Regions from separate parts of the Homo sapiens genome. Here all the other regions are linked to region 1. Evidence: promoter capture Hi-C in human tissues and cell types (Jung and others, 2019). All regions are on one chromosome and are shown on one strand. Each heading gives the region's core, a stretch centred on a gene start or on the middle of the fragment in contact. The rest is flanking DNA. Distances are from core to core; before and after follow the strand shown.

Region 1 (3,586 bases), core at 1,007-3,506:
ACTTTCATACCAAACCTTTTTTCTTTGGGGAGAAAATAAGCATTATGTTAGTGATGGCAAAGTCAAAAAGTTACATAAGCTAATTTAAGAGGTTATGATACCATAACTGTTTATAGGGGGCTAAACTTAGATGTTACATTACTGGACATCTTAAAAAATTTCAGAATTTAATTGATAACAACATGGGTTGTGGGGAAGAGGCTGAAGATGGTTTTAATTCAACCTCATAATTTTTACCTAAATTCTACTTCTAGTCCCAAGGTTAGAGAGAGGATCTTAAAAAGACACCTACCAAACTGCACATAAACACTATACGCTAATTGATAAAGATGTTTCCCATGGAAGTTCAAGTAAAGGATTCAGATACTGTTATAGGCATAGACTGAGACTGAACAATTAAGCAAATGGATGGTGGGAGCCACGCTCACCATTGGAGTGCGACTTACAGATCAGCAAGGAGAGGAGGCTAGAATGATCCACACAGTACGTCTGGAGTTGGAGACAGATGGCTATACACGGAAATGTTTATAGGTGCATATTTACACAAGGGTTAGTAGAAACACATATATCCTTTCGTCAGATGAGATGGCCCAAAAGACAGACACCCCAGAAGCAATGAACACACCCAGCACCCATGGTTTCTAATCTCTCTCTCCAATAAAAGGAACGAGGGCTTCTTGGAGAAATGGCTGATTTTAGGGCTGTGGTACGAAACACACAAGATGAGCCTGGAGTATCTTGTAGTGCCAGAAAGTAGGAAAGTGTTTAACACACACAGAACCCAGCAAAACCCCACAATGACAGGGTATGCAAACAGGACATAGGAGCTTAGTGAGCTCCTAAGGGCCTGAGCTGGAAACATTCGAACAAAACTAAGTAACACGGGATTATAACCCATGAGTTCTTGGTGATATGAATGAATTAATACATGGGGTGAAGAGACATATCCCTTGTGCAGAATGCAAACCACTTATGAGCAAAATTCCCCACTCATTAGGCATGGGCTGCACACAGCGACTTTCTCCCAGAGTACAGTAAGGAAAGGGGGCAAAAAGAGTAACTTTACGGTAGAGAAACCTGGCAAGCACCTCATGCAGGGGATCACGGCCAGCGTGGACCCTGGATACGGTGCGATGAGAATGGCCTTTACCTCTGTAGTCTTCCTCCCCAAAAGCCATAATCCACGTCTAAGCATTAAAAAAACAGGCACATTCCAACAGAGAGGCATCCTGCAAAGCACCTGACCAGTACCCCTCAAAACTGGCACAGCCATCAAAACCAGGGACAGTCTGGGACACTACCCCAGCCTAAGGAAACAAGACAATTCAATGTAACGTGGACCTTGGGTGGGCACCTGGGACAGGAAGGGACAGCAGGCAGAACCAAGGAAAAGTGAATAAAGTATGAGCTTCAGTTAGCAACACTCTTATCAATATCGGCTCATTAACTGGAACACGTTGGAAGCTAAAGTCCGACGCTAACACAGGGGGAGCTGGGTGCCAGGACACAGGAACGCGGTACTATTTTTGCAATTTTTCTGCAGGGTCTAAAACTGTCTTTAAAAGTAGTGTATTAAAGTAGAAAACATACAACCACCTACCATACTTAGAAGAACTAAAAGCAGTGTGAAAAGTCAATGTATTTTATTGTACTTATCTTTCATAATTTAAAAACACTAATTATCATGACAAGCTTTAGTCTTCAAATTCACACAGAAAGTCAACATTAGCAAGGAAATTCTTATATTTTTTCATTTTTCCTCATTTTCTGAAACTAATCTTCTGAAAAATACGTCTGGTGACAAGAATCAAAATAAACACACATTGTCACTTTGTTTTCTTAACCCGACACACGTCCACGAACACAAAAGCTGCAAATGCTGACAGTGAGAGCTAGAACTGCTGCAGACCCCAGGAGGCAGGAACTGGCGAGCTAGGCCGCATGGGCGCAAGAACGCGGATGAGCGGACACCGCAACCCGGGGACACCGCCCCCTAGGGAATACCGCGCCCAGGGACACCGCCCCCGCCGCATTACTTGGTTTTCGAGGCAAATTTCTTGAGCCAGTTCTTGCAGGAGACAGCAGAGCAGTGAAGTCCCCGCTCGCAGCCTGGAAATAGCGCAGCATCGCGGCTACGGAACAGGGCCCGGAGACCCGCGCGGGAGCGCCACAGCCCGCCCGCCGCAGCCCACATGGCGCGGCGCCGGGACCCGGAGCGAGCAGGGAGACAACGGGCGCAGGCGCGGAGCGACAACTGACGCGAGGGTGGCGGCGTGTGGGCGGGGCGACGGCGCAGAGCGGGAGGAAGACTCACGCCTGGCAGGCGGCGTGTGGGCGGGGCGATGATGCAGGGCGGGGCGATGATGCAGGGCGGGGCGAGGACAGACGCGAAGCTGACGGCGTGTGGGCGGGGCCACGGCGCGGGGCGGGACGAAGACGGGGTGCAAGGCGGGCGGGGCAACGACGGCGGAGGGGCGAAGGCCCGAGGGGGGCGGTAGGTGGGCGGGGCGAGGACAGACGCGAAGCTGACGGCGTGTGGACGGGGCGACGGCGAGGGACGGGGCAAAGACTGGACGCAAGAAGGGGCGGGGCGACAACGGCGGAGGGGCGAAGGCGCGAGGCGAACGGCGAGTGGGCGGGGTGAAGACCGACGCGAAGCGGGCGGTGGTTGGGCGGGGCGAAGACTGACGCGAGGCGGGCGGTGAATGGGCGGGGCGAAGACTGGCGCGAGGTGGGCGGTGGGTGGGCAGGGCGAAGACTGAAGCGAGAAGGGCAGCGCGAGGTGGGCGACTACCAGAGCGAAGCGAGCGGCGTGTAAGCGGGGTGAAGACAACGCCAGGTGGGCAGTGTGCGGGCGGGGGGGGCGGCAACGGGGGCGGGGCGAAGGACGACGCGAGGCGGGGCCGGCGGGAGCTGGGCGTGGGGAGGCCGCGTGGGCTGCGCGGAGGGTGTGCCACTCGGGGAAGCGTGGGAACCGCCTGGTTGCCTGGCGCTGCGTAGCTAGGAACACGTTTTGTTTAAATACTGGGAACTGACGTAGGCGGGTGCGCCGCACAAAGCAACGAAGGCATCGAAGCCTGGAGACCTGGGCAGGGCCGCTGTCGGCGGGAGGCTGCGAGGGGTCCGTCTGTTTCCGCCACTGGGCCCTCCAGGGCTTTGCTGCTGCGCCGCCTTCTCCCCGGGCACCTAGAGAAAGTCCCCAGATTGGGCGTCCTCCCCAGAAGTGGTCTCGCCCCGCCCGCCTCCCCAGAGTCAGCGTGGCCCAGCGGGGAAGCTGCTCCCCCCGGGCGTGGAAAGAGAAGTGAGCGCGACCGCAGTGTTGGGGATGCGTGGGCTGTGACTCCCCCGAGGCGGCTGCTGTGGTGTGAGACACGTCTGTGTGTGTGTGTGTGTGTGGGCGCGTGTGGATGTGTACATGTGTATGTGTGCATATGTACGTGTGTGTGCATGTGTGTGGACATGTATATGTGTGCATGTGCGTGCGCGTATATATGTGTGTGTGTATGCGTATGTATGTGTGTATATATTGTCAATCGAAGAAAACGACGAGACAAGTCTCTAATCATTTTAGGAGATTTATTTGCCA
Region 2 (3,421 bases), core at 98-2,597, 170 kb after region 1:
GCAGAAAGAAAACAAGTGAAGAAAACGGAACAGAGCCTAAGAGACCTGTGGGACCATCACATGTACCAGCTTTTGCATAGTGAGAGTCCTGAAAGGAAAGAGGGAACAGGGAAGAAAGAATATTTGAAGAAATATGGTTTAAAAACCCTCCAAATTCGATGAAAAACATTAATCTACACATCTAAGAAACTCAACAAACTCCAAGTAAGATAAATTCAAAGACATCCACACTGACACACCACAAACTGTCTAAAGACAAAGACCCGGCACAGTGGCTCATGCCTGTAATCCCAGCACTTTGGGAGGCCGAGGCAGGTGGATCCTCTGAGGTCAGGAGTTTGAGACCATCCTGGCCAACATGGCAAAAACCTGTCTCTACTAAAAATACAAAAATTAGCGGGGTGTGGTGGCAGGTGCCCGTAATCCCAGCTACTCGGGAGGCTGAGGCAGGGAGAATTGCCTGAACCTGGGAACGGAGGTTTCAGTGAGCCGAGATCGCGCCACTGCAGTCCAGCCTGGGTAACAGAGTGAGAACTCCATCTCAAAAAAAAAAAAAAAAAAAAAAGAGAGAGAGAGAAGAAAACAGAGGCAAAAATCCTCCACAAGACATGAGCAAAATAAATCCAGCTTCATATTAAAAGGATTATACATGATGACCATTTGATCGTTTACCATAGAGATTTATCACAGGAATACACGGGTGGCACAATACACAAAATTACTATAATACGCTCATTTATAGGATGAAGGGAAAAATCATGCGATAATTTCAATAGAGGCAGAAAAAGGATTTGACGAAGTCTAACATCCTTTCCTGATTAAACAAAAAACTCAATCAATAACTAGGTCTAAAAGAGAACTTCCTCCACATGACAAGGTCCACGTAGGAAAAACTCACCGCTAACTCCATAGTCAACGGTGAAAGACTGGATTCTTTCCCCTAAGACCAGGAACAAGACTGAAATACCTGCTCTCATCAGTTCTACTTAACATTGAACTGGAAATTATAGTCAGAAAAATTAGGCAAGAGAAAGAAATAAAAGGCATCCACACTCAAAAGAAAAAAGTAAAACTATATTTTGAGATGACTTGATCTTATGATCTTATGTACAGAAAACCTTAAAGAACACACACGCACACATACACATACACATGCGCACACACACACACACACATCACTATGAGAATGGGTTCAGCAAAGTTGCAAGACATGAGATCGGTAAAAAAAATCAGTTGTATTTCTATACAAAAGCAATGAATAATCGGAAAAGGAAGTTAAAAAAATTCCATTTATAAGAGCATCAGAAAGAATAAAATACTTAGAAATAAATTTAACCAAGGAGTGGAAACTGAAACCTACACTGAAAACTGAAAACTACAAACATTGGTGGAAGAAATTTTAAGACTAAATAAATGAAAAGACATTCCATGCTCATGTATTGGAAGACTTAATATTGTTAAGATGGCAATCTTCCCTAAATTGATCAACAGAGTCAATCCAATCCATATGAAAATCCCAGTAACTTTTTTGAAGACATTGACAAGTTGAACATTCTATTGACAAGTTGAAAATTCTATTGGAAATGCAAGGTAGCCAAAACAAACTTGACAAAGGACAAAGTTGGAGGGCTCAAACTTACTTGATATCATTTTATTACATGCCTCCACCTAAATCTTGTGTCGAAATGAGATCTGTTCGTTTAAAAGTGTGTGGTACCTACCCCGCAACCTTGTTCTTGCTTTCACCATGTAACGTGCCTGCTCCCCCTTTGCTTTCTGCCATAACTGGAAGCTTCCCAAAGCCTCCCCAGAAGCTTAGCAGACATTGGCACCGTGCCTCCTTTACAGCCTGAAGAACCATGAGCGAATTAAACCTCTTTTCTTTATAAATTACCCAGTCTCAGGTATTCCTTTATAGGAATGCGAACATGGACTAGTACATTACTACTTACTCAAAGTGAGTATAAAGCTACAGCAATCAAGAGTGTAGTACTAGTGTAAAGAGAGACATAAAAATCAATGGAGCAGAATTGAAAGTCCAGAAATGAACCCATAAATCTACCGTCAGTTCACTTTTGACAAGGTCGTCAAGACTATTCAATGGAGAAGTAATAGTGTCTCCAACAAACGGTTATCCACATGTAAAAAAATAAAGTTGGACCCTGCTATCGTTTGGATATTGGCCTCCAAATCTTATATTGGAATTTGATACCCAGTGTCGGAGGTGGGGCCTAATGGGAGGGGTTTGGGTCATGGGGGCTGATCCCTCATGCATGGCTGGGAGGTGTCTTCATGGTAATGAGTGAGTTCTCGCTCTATGAGTTCACTCCAGAGTTGGCTGTTGAACCCGCCTGGCACCCCTAGCCCTTGCTTCCTCCATCTCCGTGTGGTCTCTGCACACACCAGCTCCACGCCATCTTCTGCCATGACTGGAGCTGCCTGTGGCCTTCCTCAGATGCAGATGCCTGATCTTGAACTTTTCCAGACATCAGAATCATGATGACATCACAAGCTTCTTTTTAAAATGAATTACCTGGCTCCAGGTATTCCTTTATAGCAACACTGAATGGACCAAGATGCCTACATCACACTATATATAAAAACTAATTCAAACTAGATCAAAGACCTTAATGTAAGAGCTAAAACTCCAAAACACACGTAGAAGAAAACAGACTGTACATCTTCATGACCATGGATGAGACATTGGTTTCTGAAACAGAATGCCAAAAGCACAAGCAACAAAAGAAAAAAAGATAAATTGGACTTCATTCCAATGAAACTCTTGTATATCAAAGAACAGGACCAGGAAAATGAATGACAAGTAACGGTGGAAAAAAAAAGAGCTGCAAGTCCCGTATCTGATAAGAGTCCAGTATCCAGGATGTTAGGAACTCTTGGAGCTCAACAACAAATGACAAACAACCCAATTTAAACATGGGCAGAGGATCTGAATAGATATTTCTCCCGAGGAAGTATGTGAATGGCTAATAAGCACATGAAAGGTGATCAATATCATTAGTCATTATGGAAACGTAAATTAAAACTACAAGATACCACTTCACATCCACTAGGGTCGTTATAGTCAAACAAATGGAAAAAAAAAACCCAACAAGTGTTGGAAAGGATGTGGAAAAATTGGACCCCTGTACATTGCTGGTGGGAATATAAAATGTCACAGCCACAGTGGAAAACAGTCTGGCAGTTCCTCAAAAATTTAAACATGGAGTTCTCATGTGACCCGGTGACCCCACTCCGAGATGTACACTCAAGACAAATGAAAACATGTGTTCACACAAAAACTTGTACATAAATGTTCACAGTGGCATTACTAGAATAGCCAAAAACTGAAAACAACCCAAATTCCATCAACTGATAAACGGAGAAGCAAAATATGGGCCTCCATACAGGAATGTTATGCAGC
Region 3 (3,489 bases), core at 468-2,967, 200 kb after region 1:
GGAATTTTTTTGTGGATCTATTTCTGGGTTCTCTGTTCTATTCCACTGATCTATGTACATATCCCTCCACCAATACCACAAAGTGTCAATTATTATAGCTATATAACATGCCTTGAAATCAGGTGGATGGATTTTCCCCACTTTATTCTTCTTTTCCAAATAATTTTACCTATTCTAGTTCCCTTGACTTTCTATATAAATTTTAGATAATCTCATCTATATATTTTTTAAATCACTGGGATTTTAACCTCAAATTTTTATATCAATTTGGGGAGAACTGACATTTTTAATAAGCTAATTCCATAAATGAACATGATACATCTCTCCATTTATTTAGATTATTTCTTTTATTTGCCTTTTGTAGTCTTCAGCATTAAAGTTCTATATGTGTATTGCTAGACTCATACCTAAGTATTTCATTTTGTTGAACAATTGTAAAGGGTATTATATTCTATGTTTAATTTTGATATCCATGTGTCTTGCTAGTGTATTGATTTTGTATGTTTATCTTATGTCTTGCAATCTTGCTGAATTCATTTATTAGTTCTAAGAGTTTTTTTTGGCTTTTTGTAGATTTCTTGGGATTTTCTGTGTATACAATCATGTAATTTGCAAATGGGGCAGTCTTATTTCTTCCTTTATAACTTATATACATTTTATTTCATTTTATTACCCACTGCAGTGACCAGAGCTTTCAGTTATATGTTGAATAAGAGTGATGAAAGTGAGCATTTTTGCCTTGTTCTCCATCTGAGGGGAAGAACATTCAGTCTTTCACCATTAAGTGTATGTCAGCTAAGGTTTTTGTAGATACTCTTTATCAAGTCAAGAAACTTCCCCTTGATTCCTATATTCTGAGAATTTTTATCAAAAGAGGTGTTATTTAAAAAGTTTTTTGCATCAACTTATATGATTATGTGATTTTTCTTTAGCCTGTCAATATGGTGCTTACACTGATTGAATTTAAATACTGAATCATCTTTGCATCCCTGGAATAAACTCTCCACTTGGCCATGGTGTATAATTCCTTTTACGTATTGCTGATTTCTATTTGCTAATATTTAATAAGGTTTTAGAAAATGTTCCCTCCTCTTCCATTTTTTGGAAAAGACAGTATAGATTGGTGTTAATTCTTCCTTAGATGTTTACTCAGAGGTTTAGTTGTTTAGATGTTCTCCAGTGAAATCATCTGGGCTTGGAGATTGCTTTTTCAGGAATTTTTAATTTACAAATTCAAGTTTATTAACAGTTATAGGACTATTCTCATGATCTATTTCACACTGGGTGAATTGTGGTAGTGTGTATTTTCCAAGGAATCGGTCCAGTAGATCTGGGCTGTCAAATGTGCATGTAGAGTTGTTGGCAGGGTTCCCTTCTCACACTTCTGATGTCTACAGGGTATGCAGTTATGTCCTCTATTTTGTTCCTGACGTTGGTAACGTGTGTCTTCTCTCTTCTTAATTTTGTTGGGCTTGCCAGGAATTATTTATTTATTTATGCATTTAGAGTCAGGGTCTTGCACTGTTGTCCAGGCTGGAGTGCAGTGGCATGATCATGGCTCACTGCAGCCTTGACCTGGGCTCAAGTGATCCTCTCCCTTCAGCCTCCCAAGTAGCTGGGATGACAGGCATGCGCCCACATATTCTGCTAATTTATTTTTAAATTTATATTTTTGTAGAGGTGGGGTCTTGTCCAGGCTGGTGTTGGATTCCTGACTCAAATGATCCTCCTGACTTGGCCTCTCAAAGTGCTGGGGTTACAGGTGTGAGCCACTGCATCTGGCCAAGTTTATTCTATTGATCCTTTCAAAGAGTCGGCTCTTTGTTTCACTGCTTTTCCCTATTGTTCTACTGGGCTAAGCGCCATTGACTTCTGCTCTTCATTATTTCATTCCTTCTACTTGCTTTGCTCTTCCTCTTCTAGGTACTGCAGGTGGGACCTGAGATTGTACATTGAGGTTTTTCCTTTTTTCTAATGTAATTTCCCTCTTGACACTGTATAGCTTGGTCTCACAAATTTTGATATGTTGTGTATATATTTTCATTCTGTTCAATGTATGTTTTGATTTCCCTTAAGACTTCCTCTTTGGGCCAGGTGAGGTGGCTCATGCCTGTAATCCCAACACTTTGAGAGGCTGAGGTGGGAGGATCACTTGAGCCCAGGAATTCAAGATCAGACTGGGCAACACAGGGAGACCCCATCTCTACAAAAAATTTAAAAATTAGCTGGGCATGGTGGTGCACACCTTTGGTCCCAGCTACTCAGGAGGCTGAGGTTGAAGGACTGCTGGAGCCCAGGAGGTCGAGGCTGCAATGAGCCATGATTGCATCACTGCAGTCAGCCTGGGCGACAGAGAGACATTGTCTCAGGAAAAAAAAAAAAAAAGACTTGTTTGGCCCAAGGATTATTTAGAAGTATGATTTAAATTTCCAGTGTTTGAAGATTATTCTATTATTGATTTCCAGTTTTATTCCATTATGCTCAGAGAACCACACTGAGAACACTTATATGATTTCAGTTCTTTTAAATTTGTTGAGATTTGTTTTATGGTATACTTTTGATATGGTTTGGCTCTGTGTCCCCACCTAAATCTCATCTTGATTTGTAATCACCACATGTCAAGGGAGGGACCTGGTGGGAGGTGACTGGATTATGGGCCAGTTCCCCCCTGCTGTTCTTGTGATAGCAAGTTCTCCTGAGATTTGATGGTTTAAAAGTGAGGCACTTTCCCTTCACTCACTCTCGCTTTCTCCTGCCACCATGTGAAGAAGGTCTTGCTTCTCCTTCACCTTCTGCCATGACTGTAAGTTTCCTGAGGCCTCCCCAGCCATGTGGAATTGTGGGTCAATTAAACCTTTTTTCTTCATAAATTACCCAGTCTCAGGTAGTTCTGTATAGGCGTGAAAATGGACTAATACAGAAAATTGGTACCTGGAGTGGGGCACTGCTACAAAGATACTTGAAAATGTGGACACAACTTTGGAACTGGGTAAAGGGCAGAGGTTGGAAGAGTTTGGAGGGCTCAGAAGAAGACAGGAAGATGTGGGGAAGTTTGGAACATCCTAGAGACTTGTCAAATGGTTTTGACCAAAATACTGATAGAGATATGGACAATGAAGTCCAGGCTAAGGTGGTCTCAGATGGAGATGAGGAACTTATTAAGAACTGCAGTAGGGTCATTCTTGCTATACTTTCACAAAGAGACTAGTGGCATTTTGCCCCTGCCGTAGAGATCTGTGGACCTTTGAACTTGAGATGATTTTTCTCTCATGGAGAACCTCTAGTAGAGTAAAGCAGAGGGGAAATGTGGGGTTGGAGCCCCACATAGAGTCCCCACTGGGGAACTGCCTAGTGGAGCTGTGAGAAGAGGGCCACTGTCCTCCAGACCCCAGAATGGTAGATCCTCCAACTGCTTGCACCATCTGCCTGGAAAAGCCACCATCACTCAGAGCCAGCAAGTGAAAGCAGCCATGGGGGCTGTGCCCTGCA
Region 4 (3,597 bases), core at 1,068-3,567, 150 kb after region 1:
CCCACTGGGGGAACCAAGGAAGGGAACCAGCCAGTCCCTGCCAGGCCGGGGTTGAGCAGAGGCGCCCTCACCGGAGGACGGGAATCCAGCAGTGGTGGGGGCTGCAGAGCTGGGGGCCTCCTTGAAGGACTGAGAACGGGAGTGTGTGTCATTAGGTGGGACCTAGATGGGGCGAATTCTCTTGGGGGTGCAGGTGTGGGGCCCACAGGGAGGGGCGGGAGGAGGGCTGAGAACAGGGACATGGGGCATGGGGAGGGGCATGGGGACGGAGCCCCTGCAGCTTCTGTGCTGTGCTGGGGAGCTGAGCTCTGGCTTCGTGCTGGCAGAGAGAGGTCGGCCTGTGCCACGGAAATTGCAGGCGGGAGGCTGGTGGGAGAAGAGGGCCCAGCCTCCGGGAGGCACTGGGAGAAGAAAAGATGGCAGGGCGGGGGTTGGGATAGAAACGTCAGGACGTGGGGACTGGCTAGACGGGGGCGGGGGACGGTCCCCACCCAGGCACACCCGAGTTGGGGGTCAGTGGGCCGGGCTGCATGGAGCCCTCGTGGACGTGCCGGTGGGGACGCCGGTGCAAGTCTGTGCTAAATGGCAGAAGGGGCTGCAGCCGCCATGACGGGCCCTGTAAACGGCATCATCCACTATCACCAAAGCAAAAACGAAAACATGCCTGCTGGGAACGCTGTGTGCTCACCGGCCAGCGTTTACCCAGGGTACCTGGAAGTGGAACAGCTGGCTTCTAAGACATATAAGCACATCCTCACCTTTACCAGACAGACATGTCTTCACCTTTGCCAGACAGGCCCCTCCTCATCGTTCACTAGAAGCTGCTGAGTTGGTCCCCAAGCAGCCACACAAATTCAGCCCTGTCCCCACCAGACAAGTGTCCCCTGGGTCACGGCCACAGCCAAGGTTCTGGGGCCCAGGGTGGTCCAGGCGGGGCAGGGTATAAACTCGTAAAACTCTGCACTAATATATTTTAAAAGCCTTCAAAGACTGTGTGCACTTTGACCTAGAAATTCTATTTTGGGGAGTTGTCAGGGAACGTCAGAAATGAGCCCAAAGATTTATGCAAAAGGACCTGCTCGCTCATCAGAGCTCAGCTTTATGGGTCTGGACAAATCACGGTCCTGGAACCACCACTACCGCGAAAACGCAGCGCAAAGACGCAGGACAGCTCCCCCAGCTTCCCCCCGCCGTTCCCTGCCTCACAGCCGGACCCCGCCCACCCAGTCTTGGCCCCCAACCCCTGGCTTTCCCAGGTATCCCATAGACGGGATCGCAGCGTGGCTTCCTGGCCTGGCCTCTCCCGCGTCAGGCCCTGCGAGCCCATTCGTGCTGTCCCGGGCACCCACCCTTTGCTGCTTTTCACCGCGCACCGTGGATGCACCGGGATTGATCTGGCACCGGCCGTCGCGGTCCGTGTCGGCTGCTTCCGGGCTAGGCCGTGCTGAATAAAGCCGGCTGAACACTCGCTCTGTACGTGACACACGCTGTCCTTCCCGCGAGTACGTCCTGGGCGTGGGCGCTGGTGTGCGATGAGCGCAGGTGTACCCGGCCTCCGCGTGCCACGCGCAGATGTACCCGGCCTCCGCGCTCCACGCGCAGGTGTACCCGGCCTCCGCGCTCCACGCGCAGGTGTACCCGGCCTCCGCGCTCCACGCGCAGGTGTACCCGGCCTCCGCGCTCCACGCGCAGGTGTACCCGGCCTCCGCGCTCCACGGCAGCCTCGCCACTCCATGGCAGCCTCGCCACTCCATGGCCTGCAGGTCCTGAGCCTTGCCGGCCGCGCACCCTCCTTTGAGCTTGCTGCTCTCGGCTGGTTTTTAGATCAGGGCCCTTCTAACATGTGAGTGACAGCTCCTGTGGCTTAACTCTGTATTTCCCTAATAACAGTTCAGCGCTGTATTTGCCATAGGCGTGTCTTCTTTGGTGAAGTGTCTGTTCAAAACTTTGTCCCTTTTAAAATCAGGTTATTTTCTTACAGTTGAGTTTATACAGTTCTTTATATAGCTTAATTACAAGTCCTTTGTTAGATATGTGATTTACAAATATTTTCTCCCAGTCTGAGGCTTGTTTTTTCATTCTCTTAACAGTCTTTTGTGGACAAAAGTCAAAAGAATTTTTTTAATAGAGATGAGGGTCTTGCTATATTGCCCAGGCTGGTCGTGAACTCCTGGGCTGAAGTGATCTTCCCACCTCGGCCTCTCAGTGTTAGGGTTACAGGCCTGAGACCCCAACTAGGCCAGGAGTTTTAGATTCTAATGAAGTGAAGCCTATCCATTTTCATATTTCATGAATCGCGTATCTGACGCCACGTCTGGGAACTCCTTCCTTACTCTCCATTGGCAAGGCCACCTCTATGTTTTCTTCTACAAGTTTATAGTTTTAAATGTTATATGTTTAGGGCCACGGTCCACCTTGAGTTGAATTTTTGTATAAAACGTAAGGCATGGGTTGTGTTTTTTTAAAATATGGGAGTTCAGTTGTTGTAGCCCCATTTGTTGAAAAGACGATTCTTTCTCCGTGCCCGGCCTTTTCACTTTGCCAAACGCCGGCTGGCCCCATTCATGTGGTTCTATTCCTGGACTGTGTCCACGACCCCACGCCTGTCCTTTCCCCACACTGTCCTGCTGTGGCTTCAGAACAAATCGTGAAAGCAGGCAGTGTCAGTTCCAACTGCTGCTTTTTCAAAACGGTTCCTAGGCCTTTCCATAAAGATGTTACAATCAGCTTGTAAATATTGCAGAAAATGGGATTCTGAATGGGATTTCACTGAATCTGGAGATGGACTATGGGGAGGGTGGACATCTTAGTCACACCGAGTCTTCAGCGCGTGAGCACTGCAGGCCTTCGTTGATTTCAGTCTTTATCAGTAATTATCAGCTGTATTTAGCTGTAATTATCAGCACGTAGATGGATCCTGGACCTAGGCTGTGAGACTTGCATGTAAGCAATTCATGGTTTTTGGTGCTATTAATGAACTTTAAAAAATTTGAATTCCAATAGTTCACTGCTAGCAACTCCCTTAATTTTCTTAAGCTTTGTTGTGGGTTTCCTGGGAATTTCTACATAGGCAGTTCTGTTCTCTTGCTTTCCAATCATACGGCGTGTTTCTACATAGGCAGTCCTGTTCTCTTGCTTTCCAATCGTACGGCGTGTTTCTACATAGGCAGTCCTATTCTCTTGCTTTCCAATCGTACGGCGTGTTTCTACATAGGCAGTCCTATTCTCTTGCTTTCCAATCATATGGTGTGTTTCTACATAGGCAGTTCTATTCTCTTGCTTTCCAATTGGACAGCGTGTTTCTACATATGCAGTTCTATTCTCTTGCTTTCCAATAGTACGACGTCTACTTTCCTTGCTTCACTGCTCTCTCTAGGACTGCCAACAGGTGCTGAAGAGGAGTGGGGAGCAGGCATCCTTGGGTTGGTCCCAATCTTAACGGGAAAACATTCAGTCTTTTGCTATGTATGTTGTTAGCTGTAGGGTTTTTTTGGTAGATGTTCTCTATCAGGAAAAGGAAATTCCCTTCTATTCCTAAATTGCTGAAAGTGCTGTTTTAAAAATCATGAATGGATACTGAATTTAGTCAAACGCTTT
Region 5 (3,510 bases), core at 256-2,755, 200 kb before region 1:
AATTACTAAAAGGTTATTTCATTTTTTAAAAATGCCCTGAAAAACAGCTACCTGCCAGCAGTGAAGGGACAAGTGTAGGAACGCAGTGGCTTCTGCTCAGAGATTAGGGCTTGTGGTTCAGCTGCCGGAAGGCTGAATCTGCCAGCAGCTCAGGCCCACAGTGTGAGCCCAAAACAGGCTTACTATCCTGTGCTATTATAACTCCATACATGCAAGAGGTCTGCCTTTACTGTGCTTGCAACTTTGGGTTTTTGAGAAGGGCTCGGCAGCCATCCCTGTGGATGCCTGTGAGATGCCGAACCCGTCTCTAGGCCTGGGGGAGAACAAACAGCTTGGTGAGCAAGTTGAGCGAGTGAATTGCTCCCATTGGCTGGAGTCTCACTCGCTCACCAGGGCCTATATTGAACACAGGACATGTGTTCATATTAGAGTCTCACCACAACCCTGGGATGAATGTTTTTATCTATTTTATGAAGGAGGAACAGGATCAGAGAAGTTGAATAAATTATCCAGAGTTACACAGCCAGTACAGGTGAGGATTGGAACCCAGGTGTGTCCACTCAGAGCCTGGCTCTTTGCAGCTTTGCTATGTTGTCTGTCTGTATTTGTACAACTCCAGTGACCCAGCCTGCATCCCCTCAGCCGCTCCCAGTGGGCAGCACAGCTCGGATGCAGAACTGCCTAATTCCTCCATGTATCATGAGCTCACATCGGAATGGGACCCCACTTTCTTCCACGGGCTGGAGTTCGAGGCTTCTGCCTAAGTGAATTTACCTTTCAGGAAAGTCTTATGAAGGCAGGGACAGATGCGCAGCCTGTGCTCACGCCTCACACACTTGGGCCCAGGCCAACCCCCAGCACCTTTCCCCTGGCCCTACCTCTCAGCACTAGAGTCTCCTGAGCCCTTAGTTGCTTCTGGAGTAACCCTGGCCCGTTCATCCCACTCCCTTGCTGATGGGCCATCCTTGTCCATTCCCTCCATGAGGGGCATCCCCTCCCACCTGGGGTGTTCCTTCTCACAAAGGGCACCCCTTGTCCCTGACCTTCCATTTGGAATTCTCTCTCCCATCACTGTAGCTCTTTAGGTCTTTTCCAAATTCCCTTTTTGAATTCAGCCTCAGGTCCTTCATTTACTAGCCTTGTGACTATGGGCAGGTTATTGAACCCCTCTAGGTTTCAGTCTCCTGGTTTGTAAAGTGGGAACAGTGACACCTCCCTAGGGTTGCCATCAGGATTACAGAGAGCATGCACACAAAGCTTGGCAGAGACTCTGACTTCTCTCCTGTATGGTAAATCCCTTCTGGACGGAGACCATGTTCATAGACCTCTGTGTCCTCCACTGCTACCCCTCCCTCACTGCTACCCCTCCCACCTCCTACATTTAGCAGTGCTGGGTGCATTGGTCCAGAACACATGCATGAACCAGAATGGCAGGCCCTCTGCAGGGACTGTCTGTGCTCAGAGGGGCCACAGGGTACAGTGGGTTTAGCCGTCACCCTGCACAGTCTGGCATGATGCTCGTCTGGGCAGTTCTGCGAGTGCCAACGGCTGCACCATCATCACTCTGGATCTTGGGTGGACAGCACCTAGGCAGGCGCCAGGCTCCACCTCATCTGACTCATAGGTGTGTGGCCCGATTTTAAACCGTCCCAACGTGTCAGCCCAAGAAGTCATTCTATAGCAAACTACTGCCGAGTCCCACGCTCCAACAGGTTCCTCATTAGGATGACCGCCTGTATTTCTTTAAGACCTGTTGCACTCTCTTTTCCTACATGGAGTTCTTTCTGTGTTTCTTAGTTTCCTACAGGGCACAGATGTGCACAGGTGCTCCCCGGCTTGAAGGTCTGAGGCAGCTCATGTTTGCCATGCACACGCGTGAGATCCTTTACAGCTGGAATGCGTCTGGGCTTGGATGGTAGGCCAGCATCGCCATCCCCTCCCAACAGACCCTGCTGTAGGCCAGGGGCTCTGACAGTCTAAGGCGAGTCTCAGCCCCTGCCAGTGAATGGTTTAGAGCTGGGCATGTGACCCCACCCTGACAGTGAGACTTGAGGGTCTTCTTCCTCTGAAATGGTGACACTGTGACCCTATGACCCACCTGGATGCGTGGGGGAATGTGGGAGACACCTGAAGGCCCCCAGCACGTCCTGGAGCCAACTCCCTGTGTCAACACGTCCCTGGAGCATCTCAGACACACACAGTCCTGTTTGCCTGGCCGCCCACACTGCCCTCCTCATTCCTGGGGCTGTCCAGGCTCCTTTGGTTGTGCCATGGGATGAAATGCTCTCTGTCCTCACGCTTCACCCAGTTATTTCCACTCCTTATTCCCTGAGTTTAAATTAGGGCCTGTGTTTTACAGTCTTCATTTGCATCTCTCAGAGTTTGCAATTACATATTTGCATGTGTGGATTACTGTCTAACTTCTGGCTCGAGCAAACCATCAGCTACACGAAGACAGGTCAGTTGTGCAACCTTTAATGTGCACATGAGCCCTGACTCCCATGAGAGTGCAGATTTGGACTCCGGGTCTGGTGTAGAGCATTTCCAGCTGGCTCCAGGGAATGCTTCTGGTTCAAGGAACATCCTCAAGGAGCAGGAGCTAGAACTTTCTGAAATGACCTTGCCTGGGCCCAGCCCCAGAGGTCCTGACTTCCTTGGCCTGAGGGGGCTCCTGGCTCAGACAGGATTCCCAGCCCAGGGGCCTTGCCCATCTGCTCTGTTTTGTGCCAAGGTAATTTCTGACCTAACTGGGACCTCGCTGCAGATTCGGTGTTGTGTTTTTGTGTGTGTGTTTTTAAATTTACTATATTGTAAAGGCTTCCTTGAGCCCTTAAATCCTTTTCAAATACCACTTCTGGCCAATTGTGGTGGCTCACACCTGTAATCCCAGCACTTTGGGAGACCGAGGTGGGTGGATCACAAGGTCAGGAGTGCAAGACCAGCCTGGCCAACATGGTGAAACCCCATCTCTACTAAAAATACAAAAAATTAGCCGGGTGTGGTGGCATGCACCTGTAGTCCCAGCTACTCGGGAGGCTGAGGCAGGAGAATCGCTTGAACCCAGGAGGTGGAGGTTATGGTGAGCCAAGATCATGCCACTGCACTCCAGCCTGGGCGACAGAGTGAGACTCCGTCTTCTAAAATAAAATAAGTCCCACTTCTGTTAGCTTCATCATATCTCCACCTGGAAATGTGCTTTCATGTGTTTGATGCACTTACTGTTTCCATTTGTCACCCTTATAAGTATTTTGATGAACATTTCCTGTGGGAATCTGTCTCTGTTTCTGATCACCTGCAGTTGTTCACTGTTCTCACCTGTAGGCCTGGGGTGGGGGCCTTAGATGGGAGGCAGGCCCCTGGGGGTGTGAGGCAGGTCTTTGGTGGAGAAGGGCCTTAGGTGGGAGGCGCAGTCTGTGGGCAGGGGATGGGGCCTCAGTGGGCGGGGCCTTAGGTGGGAGGCGCAGTCTGTGGATGGGGGTGGGGCTTCAGGGCTGCATCTTAGGAGATGCA
Region 6 (3,139 bases), core at 305-2,804, 220 kb after region 1:
ATTCTCTTGTATGTGGAATCCAGTTGTCCCAGCACCATCTGCTGAAGAGACTATTCTTTCTCCATTGCATGGTCTTGGCACTCTCATCAAAAGTCAGCTGACCACAGATGTATAGGTTTATTTCTAGAATTGCAATTGTATTCCATTGATCAATATGTCTCTCCTTATGCCAATACCACACTATTTTGCTTACTGTAGCTTTGTAGTAAGTTTTAATAAATAGTGTGAGAACTCCAACTTTGTTCTTTTTAAAGATTTTTTTCACTTACTTTGGTCCCTTGTAATTCCATATGAATTTTAGCATCAGCTTGTCCATTTCTGCAAAAAGTCAGCTAGGATTTTGATAGGAATTGTATTGAATCTATAGATCAGTTTGGGAGTATTGCCACCTTAACAATGTTAAGTCTTCCTATCCGTGAACATGGGATGTCTTTCCATTTCTTTAGGTCTGTAATTTCTTTCAGCAATGTTCTGTAGTTCTCAGCATACAAGTCTTACACCTCTTTGGTTACATTTCTTGCTAGGGGTTTTACTCTTTTTGATGCTATAGTAAATTGTCTTCCTAATTTCCTTTCCAGGTTTTTCATTGCTAGTATACAACAACACGCTGAGTTTTGAGTATTGTTTGACTCTAAGTTCTGGTTTGTTTTTGTTTTTGAGAAGAGCCTGACTCATGCTTCTAAGGTTGGACAGTCCTCATCATTCAGAGACTGTGCATATATTTACTTCTAGTTTTTTTCTACGTTTTTTGGTTTGTTTTGTCTTTTTATACAGCATCTCACTCTGTCACCCAGACTGGAGTGTGATGGTGTGATTGTAGCTCACTGCAGCTTCAAACTCCTGAGCTCAAGTGATCCTCCCACCTCAGCATCCCAAGTAGCTGCAACTACAGGCCTGTGCCAGCACACCTGGTTAATTCTTTTTTTTTAGAGACAGGGTCTTGCTATGTTCCCCAAGCTGGTCTTAAATTTCTGAGGTGATCTTTCCACCTTAGCCTCCCACAGTGCTGGGATTCTAGGCATGAGCCACTGCATCTGGCTACTTTGTTTTTTAATTTTTGATTTCTACGTTTCCTGCCTTTACTCACCAGCACTCGGCATCAGTATTTGACATGAGATGGGACCAAAGCTGGGTTTGCCTGCCCTGTAGAGCTGTGCTGGGCAGCCCCCAGCAAACCCCCTCCGGGACTAGGCGTGGTGCTTCCCCCCTCCCCACTGATCAGAAATTCTCCAGTCTCATCTTGGTCCTCTTTGTCCACCCTCTCTTCTCTCTTTTCCAAGGCTTCCTTTTCAAGTTTCTCTTTTTGTCCCTTTCACCTGATTTTTTTCCTTTAGACTATTACCCACTCCCCCCTCCCACCGCCTCCATCTTCCCTGGCTTTTAAATCAGATTCTGCCTTTGCACATGAGAAGCCCAGCTGGGTGCTGACACAGGTTCTGAGGGATGCTCCCTCGAGGTTTCATCCTCATCGGCCCTTCCACCCAGGCCCAGCGCAATGGGCGGGCGGCTCCGCGAGGCTGGCCCTGTGGACGGCGCTGAGACCAGAACCCACAGCCAAACGCCAATGAGCACAGGACTCCGCCCACCAGCCCCACAACCCCATGAGCCCCGGAAAGTTGGAGCGTCACGATAGTGGGAGGAGAAGCTTTAAAACCGGCAACAATGAAGGAGACGCAGAGGGCAGCCACGGGCATTTGGCCACATTCTTGTTTTTTCTGGACGAGGTGACCACAGCTCCTAGTGTGCAGTAGGACGCCTGGGCTGCAGCATCCGAAAAGTACGTCTTGAGTGGGCGTGAAGATTGCCTTCTGGGGAGCGAGGTTTAGAACCGAAAGCTGCATAAGCGGCAGGTGCGCTGGGCACCCGGAACGTGGTGTGGTCAGTGAGGCCCCGGCAGCTCCTCAGGGCGAGGACTCTGGGACCGTAACGTGGAGTGTGGTCAGTGAGGCCCCGGCAGCTCCTCAGAGCGCGGACTCTGGGCCGGTAACGTGGAGTGTGGTCAGCGCGGCCCCGGCAGCTCCTCAGAGCGCGGACTCTGGGCCCATAACGTGGAGTGTGGTCAGCGCGGCCCCGGCAGCTCCTCAGGGCGAGGACTCTGGGACCGTAACGTGGAGTGTGGTCAGTGTGTCCCCGGCAGCTCCTCAGAGCGAGGACTCTGGGCCCATAACGTGGAGTGTGGTCAGTGTGTCCCCGGCAGCTCCTCAGAGCGCGGACTCTGGGCCCATAACGTGGAGTGTGGTCAGTGTGTCCCCGGCAGCTCCTCAGAGCGCGGACTCTGGGCCCATAACGTGGAGTGTGGTCAGCGCGGCCCCGGCAGCTCCTCAGAGCGCGGACTCTGGGCCCATAACGTGGAGTGTGGTCAGCGCGGCCCCGGCAGCTCCTCAGAGCGCGGACTCTGGGCCCATAACGTGGAGTGTGGTCAGCGAGGCCCCGGCAGCTCCTCAGAGCGCGGACTCTGGGCCCATAACGTGGAGTGTGGTCAGCGAGGCCCCGGCAGCTCCTCAGAGCGCGGACTCTGGGCCCATAACGTGGAGTGTGGTCAGCGAGGCCCCGGCAGCTCCTCAGAGCGCGGACTCTGGGCCCATAACGTGGAGTGTGGTCAGTGTGTCCCTGGCAGCTTCTCAGAGCGCGGACTCTGGGCCCATAACGTGGAGTGTGGTCAGTGTGTCCCCGGCAGCTCCTCAGAGCGCGGACTCTGGGCCCATAACGTGGAGTGTGGTCAGCGAGGCCCCGGCAGCTCCTCAGAGCGCGGACTCTGGGCCCATAACGTGGAGTGTGGTCAGTGTGTCCCCGGCAGCTCCTCAGAGCGCGGACTCTGGGCCCATAACGTGGAGTGTGGTCAGTGTGTCCCCGGCAGCTTCTCAGAGCGCGGACTCTGGGCCCATAACGTGGAGTGTGGTCAGCGAGGCCCCGGCAGCTCCTCAGAGCGCGGACTCTGGGCCCATAACGTGGAGTGTGGTCAGTGTGTCCCCGGCAGCTCCTCAGAGCGCGGACTCTGGGCCCATAACGTGGAGTGTGGTCAGCGAGGCCCCGGCAGCTCCTCAGAGCGCGGACTCTGGGCCCATAACGTGGAGTGTGGTCAGTGTGTCCCCGGCAGCTCCTCAGAGCGCGGACTCTGGGCCCATAACGTGGAGTGTGG
Region 7 (3,524 bases), core at 918-3,417, 220 kb before region 1:
GCAGGAAGAGAGTCCAGAATGACCTTTCCTGGAGTAGGTCACTGAGCGATGATGTTTATGAAGGTGGAGACAGACGCCTCCTGAGAAGTTTGGGGAGAGAGGAGCAAGGTCAGAAACGATGAGCTCTGTCTGCGTTGCACACGTTGAGTCTCGGTGACCAGTGACCCAAAAGAGTGCTTGAGACCATGTCCGAGAATCTGTGGATATGTGTAGGCAGGAAAGAGAGGAAGAGGACCTGGAATTCTAGGACTTTCTCACCCCTGGAGGTCACAGGGATGTTAGTGCTTAGCAGGGAGTGAAAGTCCAGGCACTCACTCTTGGCAGTAAAATTGGGAGATCGAGATCAACAAGAAGAAGATATCAGAAGGGCATGCAGAGGTACAGAGACTGGGACATGAACCAGGAGACTGAGAGACTGGATCAAGGTCATCTGAGGGAGCCCAGAGGGTTTCCCAGTATGTCCTTAGGCCTGTGGGCATTATCTGGGGTTTCTGTGGGATGCTCTAGAACAATTAAATCAGGCACATATTGAGGACAGAGGGGACTACATATCAAGCTGGGTACGGTCTGAATCCAAGCCCGTCTTCCTTTGGGGCTAAGGATGGCTCCAGGAAGTTGCTTGTTCACTGCCTTCTGTGTGATGCTGTTGGTTTTACAACTTGAGTGATCAAGCAGCATCTTCCGGGAAGATTTCCCCACATATCTAAGAATAAGGAGTTGATGCATATCCATTTAGAGTGAATGAACTCTTCACACCTAGCTTCAGGATTCTTGCTTTGGCTAAGACCTCAAGGCCAGAAGACATGAGTGCTTCCTTAATGTTTGTATTGCCAGGGCCCGGTACAGGCCGCCACCATGGCAGAATTTGATGAATCAGAGACATTATCTTGGAGATGGCCGTAAACTGGACCACCAAGAAACCATGCTGAAATAGACAAGAGGAAAAGCATGCAGTTTCATCTAATAGGAAATCAGTAGGGCCTGCAACTGCTTTGAACCTCTGAAATGCTTTGGGAGTGTGCACGAGGAGATGAATCATGCTGATGAATGGATGCTGTGTGGCTGAAAACTGACCACGCTTTTCTGCCATAAAATCACATTCTGATACATTCACCAAGTCAGTGAAAAGCTTTACGGACTGACTCTTTTTAAAACAGATCCTGAGACTCTAATCCATGCTTAGTGTAATACTTGGAACAAAGACTGTGCTTCATGTTCTAGGTGCTTTTATTTGTATTTTGTAAAAGTGTCCCAGAGTTTTAATGCAAAGTCAGAGACAGCTGCGTAAGGTTTACCACCTGCCTTTTGTCTTCCACCTGGGGGTGGACATGCAGGTCACACCGCAAGCTGGTTGAGGAGAGAGCCCTTTGCACCAATCTAGGGGATGCAACCAGGGCCACTTTGTAGGATGTGGGCAGATGGCTCTGGAATGCAGGGAATTCATTCTATTCTGGCCAACGGTGCCATCTGCTGAAAGAGCTACTGGTAAGTCAATTTAGGCATGAAGCTTCCATTGAGAGTCAAGATATTACTGCATCAAAAAGGCAGAAGAGGCTAGACACAGTGGCTCACACCTATAATCCCAGCACTTTGGGAGGCCGAGGCGAGTGGATCACCTGAGGTCAGGAATTCGAGATCAGCATGGACAACATGGTGAAACCCTGTCTCTACTAAAAATGCAAAATTAGCCGGGCGTCGTGGCACATGACTATAGTCCTAGCTATTTGGGAGGCTGAGGCAGGAGAATCGCTTGAACTCGGAAGGCGGAGGTTTCAGTGGGCCAAGATCGCGCCATTGCACCCCAGCCTGGGCAACAAGAATGAAACTCCATCTCAAAAATGAAAATTTTTAAAAAAGGCAGAAGAGGCCTCTTTGAGCAGGGGAAGAGTAAAGGGTAAAAAGAAGGGATGCCTTTATATGAGAATCAGGTGATAATGAGGCATAACTACTCTGCCATTTCCTTATTTCAATCGAATATCAGTTCTTTGCCTGCCTCATCCGAAAATATATTAGAATGCATTGCAAATGCAACAGCCTGCTGGTTCAAATATTACAGCGATGCTTTCCTATTACCCAACGAAATTATCTTAGAGAATGTTTTCTTAGAACATATACATCAGCAACAAATGTTCAATCATAAAAGAGCCTGCTCTCATCATAAAAGAGCCTGCTCTCATCATAAAAGAACCTGCTCTCATCTTTTTTTCAACAGGGTCTCACTCTGCTATGCCCTGGAGTGCAGTGGCATGATCACAGCTCACCACACACTCGACCTTCCAGTCTCAAGAAATCCTCCCACCTCAGCCTCCCCAGTCTCAAACAATCTGCCCCTCTTGGCCTTCCAAAGTGCTAGGATTACAGGCATGAGCCACTGCAGAGGGGCCTTCCAAAGTGCTAGGATTACAGGCATGAGCCACTGCAGAGGGGCCTTCCAAAGTGCTAGGATTACAGGCTTGAGCTACTGCACCCAGTCAAGGAATACATTTTACTGGGTCCACAACATACTTCCTTTTTGCTCCTGATGGTTCAGTTATTAGATGGGTTCTTAGAAGCCGTGATTTGAGGAAGATTTAACCCCTACCCATTCCTATTTTCTCTCTCATTTTCTGTCTGAAACAAGTCAGCCTCTCAGAGGCTCCCATGACCCCCAGTTGTGTGAAAAGGCAGGCTATCAGGCCAGGATCTGAGGAGTCTTTTCTCTCTCTCCTTTCTTTTCTCTTTCTTTCTTCTTTTCCTTTTCCTCCCCCACTCCCTTCTTTTTGCTTAGATGAGGTCTCTCTCTGTCACCCAGGCTGGAGTGCAGTGGCACAATCATAGCCCACTGCAGCCTCGACCTCCTGGGCTCAAGCAATTCTCCCACCTTGGCCGCCTGAGTAGCTGGGACTATAGGTGTGTCCCACCATGCCCAGCTAATTTTTTTTTTTTTTTGGAGAGACAGGGTTTCACCATGTTGCCTAGGCTAGTCTCAAACTCCTGGCCTCAAGCAATCCTCCAGCCTCAGCCTCCCAGTGTGTTGGGATTACAGGTGTGAGCCACTGTGTCTGGTAGGAGAGGGCTTTTGTTTTTTCCAATCTGGCTGCTGTACTGTGTAAAAGCCTTTCCAGCTGAAGGCTCAGTTAATTTTTTTTTGGTCTATACCCGCCTGAACCTAGAGCTCAAAGCCCTAGCAAATCCAGTTCAAGTCTCAGCTGGAAACTCAAGCTCCACACGCAACAGCAAGCTTTCCCAGCCTTTCCTCCTGCTTTTGCCTGCAGATCATGCCAATCAAGAACTGTGGAGCAACAGATGATTAAGATAAAGGAGCAGCACCTCTCAAACTTCAGTGTGGACATGAATCACCTGGGGATCTTGTTCAAGTGCGGATTCTGATTCAGTGGGTCTGGGTGGGGTATTGCTAACAAGTGCCAGGTGGAGCAGATTTTGGGCCTTACACCACACTCTGAGCCACAGGCATTGACAAAGTGATCTCACTCTCATCAACCTGGTCCAGAGCCAAGTCTAGGGCTACTTGAAATTCCGTAGCC

What was found. The method cuts DNA at HindIII sites, captures the fragments that hold promoters and counts their contacts. A contact is called where the count stands out against the background at its distance.
Region 2: a contact is called between a fragment that was not itself captured here and the fragment with the promoter of RBFA in region 1, in 7 of the 25 tissues and cell types used here (IMR-90 fibroblasts, dorsolateral prefrontal cortex, lymphoblastoid cells and 4 more).
Region 3: a fragment that was not itself captured here is called in contact with the fragment with the promoter of RBFA in region 1 in 1 of the 25 tissues and cell types used here (mesenchymal stem cells).
Region 4: a fragment that was not itself captured here is called in contact with the fragment with the promoter of RBFA in region 1 in 5 of the 25 tissues and cell types used here (H1 embryonic stem cells, IMR-90 fibroblasts, dorsolateral prefrontal cortex and 2 more).
Region 5: a fragment that was not itself captured here is called in contact with the fragment with the promoter of RBFA in region 1 in 1 of the 25 tissues and cell types used here (mesendoderm cells).
Region 6: a fragment that was not itself captured here is called in contact with the fragment with the promoter of RBFA in region 1 in 2 of the 25 tissues and cell types used here (IMR-90 fibroblasts and lymphoblastoid cells).
Region 7: a contact is called between a fragment that was not itself captured here and the fragment with the promoter of RBFA in region 1, in 3 of the 25 tissues and cell types used here (IMR-90 fibroblasts, dorsolateral prefrontal cortex and mesenchymal stem cells).

What each region holds. Positions count from the first base shown.
Region 1 is chr18:80,033,104-80,036,689 of GRCh38, reverse strand. RBFA (ribosome binding factor A) reads right to left here and starts at 2,256. Exons shown (of 7, transcript NM_024805.3): 1 at 2,037-2,256; 2 at 1-22. The coding sequence starts at 2,194. It also overlaps a transcript of TXNL4A not described here. RefSeq lists silencers at 2,061-2,210, 2,321-2,400, 2,411-2,730, 2,613-2,769, 2,801-2,970. The HindIII fragment of the contact is 12,317 bases long and covers 1-3,586 here.
Region 2 is chr18:79,858,418-79,861,838 of GRCh38, reverse strand. All of the region lies in intron 2 of KCNG2 (potassium voltage-gated channel modifier subfamily G member 2), which reads right to left. Among named protein-coding and RNA genes, the nearest start is that of KCNG2, 62 kb to the right of the region's middle. The HindIII fragment of the contact is 4,051 bases long and covers 1-3,372 here.
Region 3 is chr18:79,837,310-79,840,798 of GRCh38, reverse strand. All of the region lies in intron 1 of KCNG2 (potassium voltage-gated channel modifier subfamily G member 2), which reads right to left. Among named protein-coding and RNA genes, the nearest start is that of KCNG2, 41 kb to the right of the region's middle. The HindIII fragment of the contact is 8,072 bases long and covers 1-3,489 here.
Region 4 is chr18:79,880,874-79,884,470 of GRCh38, reverse strand. All of the region lies in intron 3 of KCNG2 (potassium voltage-gated channel modifier subfamily G member 2), which reads right to left. Among named protein-coding and RNA genes, the nearest start is that of SLC66A2, 69 kb to the left of the region's middle. The HindIII fragment of the contact is 7,076 bases long and covers 1-3,597 here.
Region 5 is chr18:80,228,584-80,232,093 of GRCh38, reverse strand. The region is part of intron 1 of PARD6G (par-6 family cell polarity regulator gamma); the gene reads left to right. Among named protein-coding and RNA genes, the nearest start is that of PARD6G, 17 kb to the left of the region's middle. The HindIII fragment of the contact is 5,802 bases long and covers 1-3,510 here.
Region 6 is chr18:79,808,392-79,811,530 of GRCh38, reverse strand. The region is part of intron 1 of KCNG2 (potassium voltage-gated channel modifier subfamily G member 2); the gene reads right to left. Among named protein-coding and RNA genes, the nearest start is that of KCNG2, 12 kb to the right of the region's middle. The HindIII fragment of the contact is 3,330 bases long and covers 1-3,139 here.
Region 7 is chr18:80,249,795-80,253,318 of GRCh38, reverse strand. No RefSeq gene overlaps it. Among named protein-coding and RNA genes, the nearest start is that of PARD6G, 4.0 kb to the right of the region's middle. The HindIII fragment of the contact is 3,076 bases long and covers 630-3,524 here.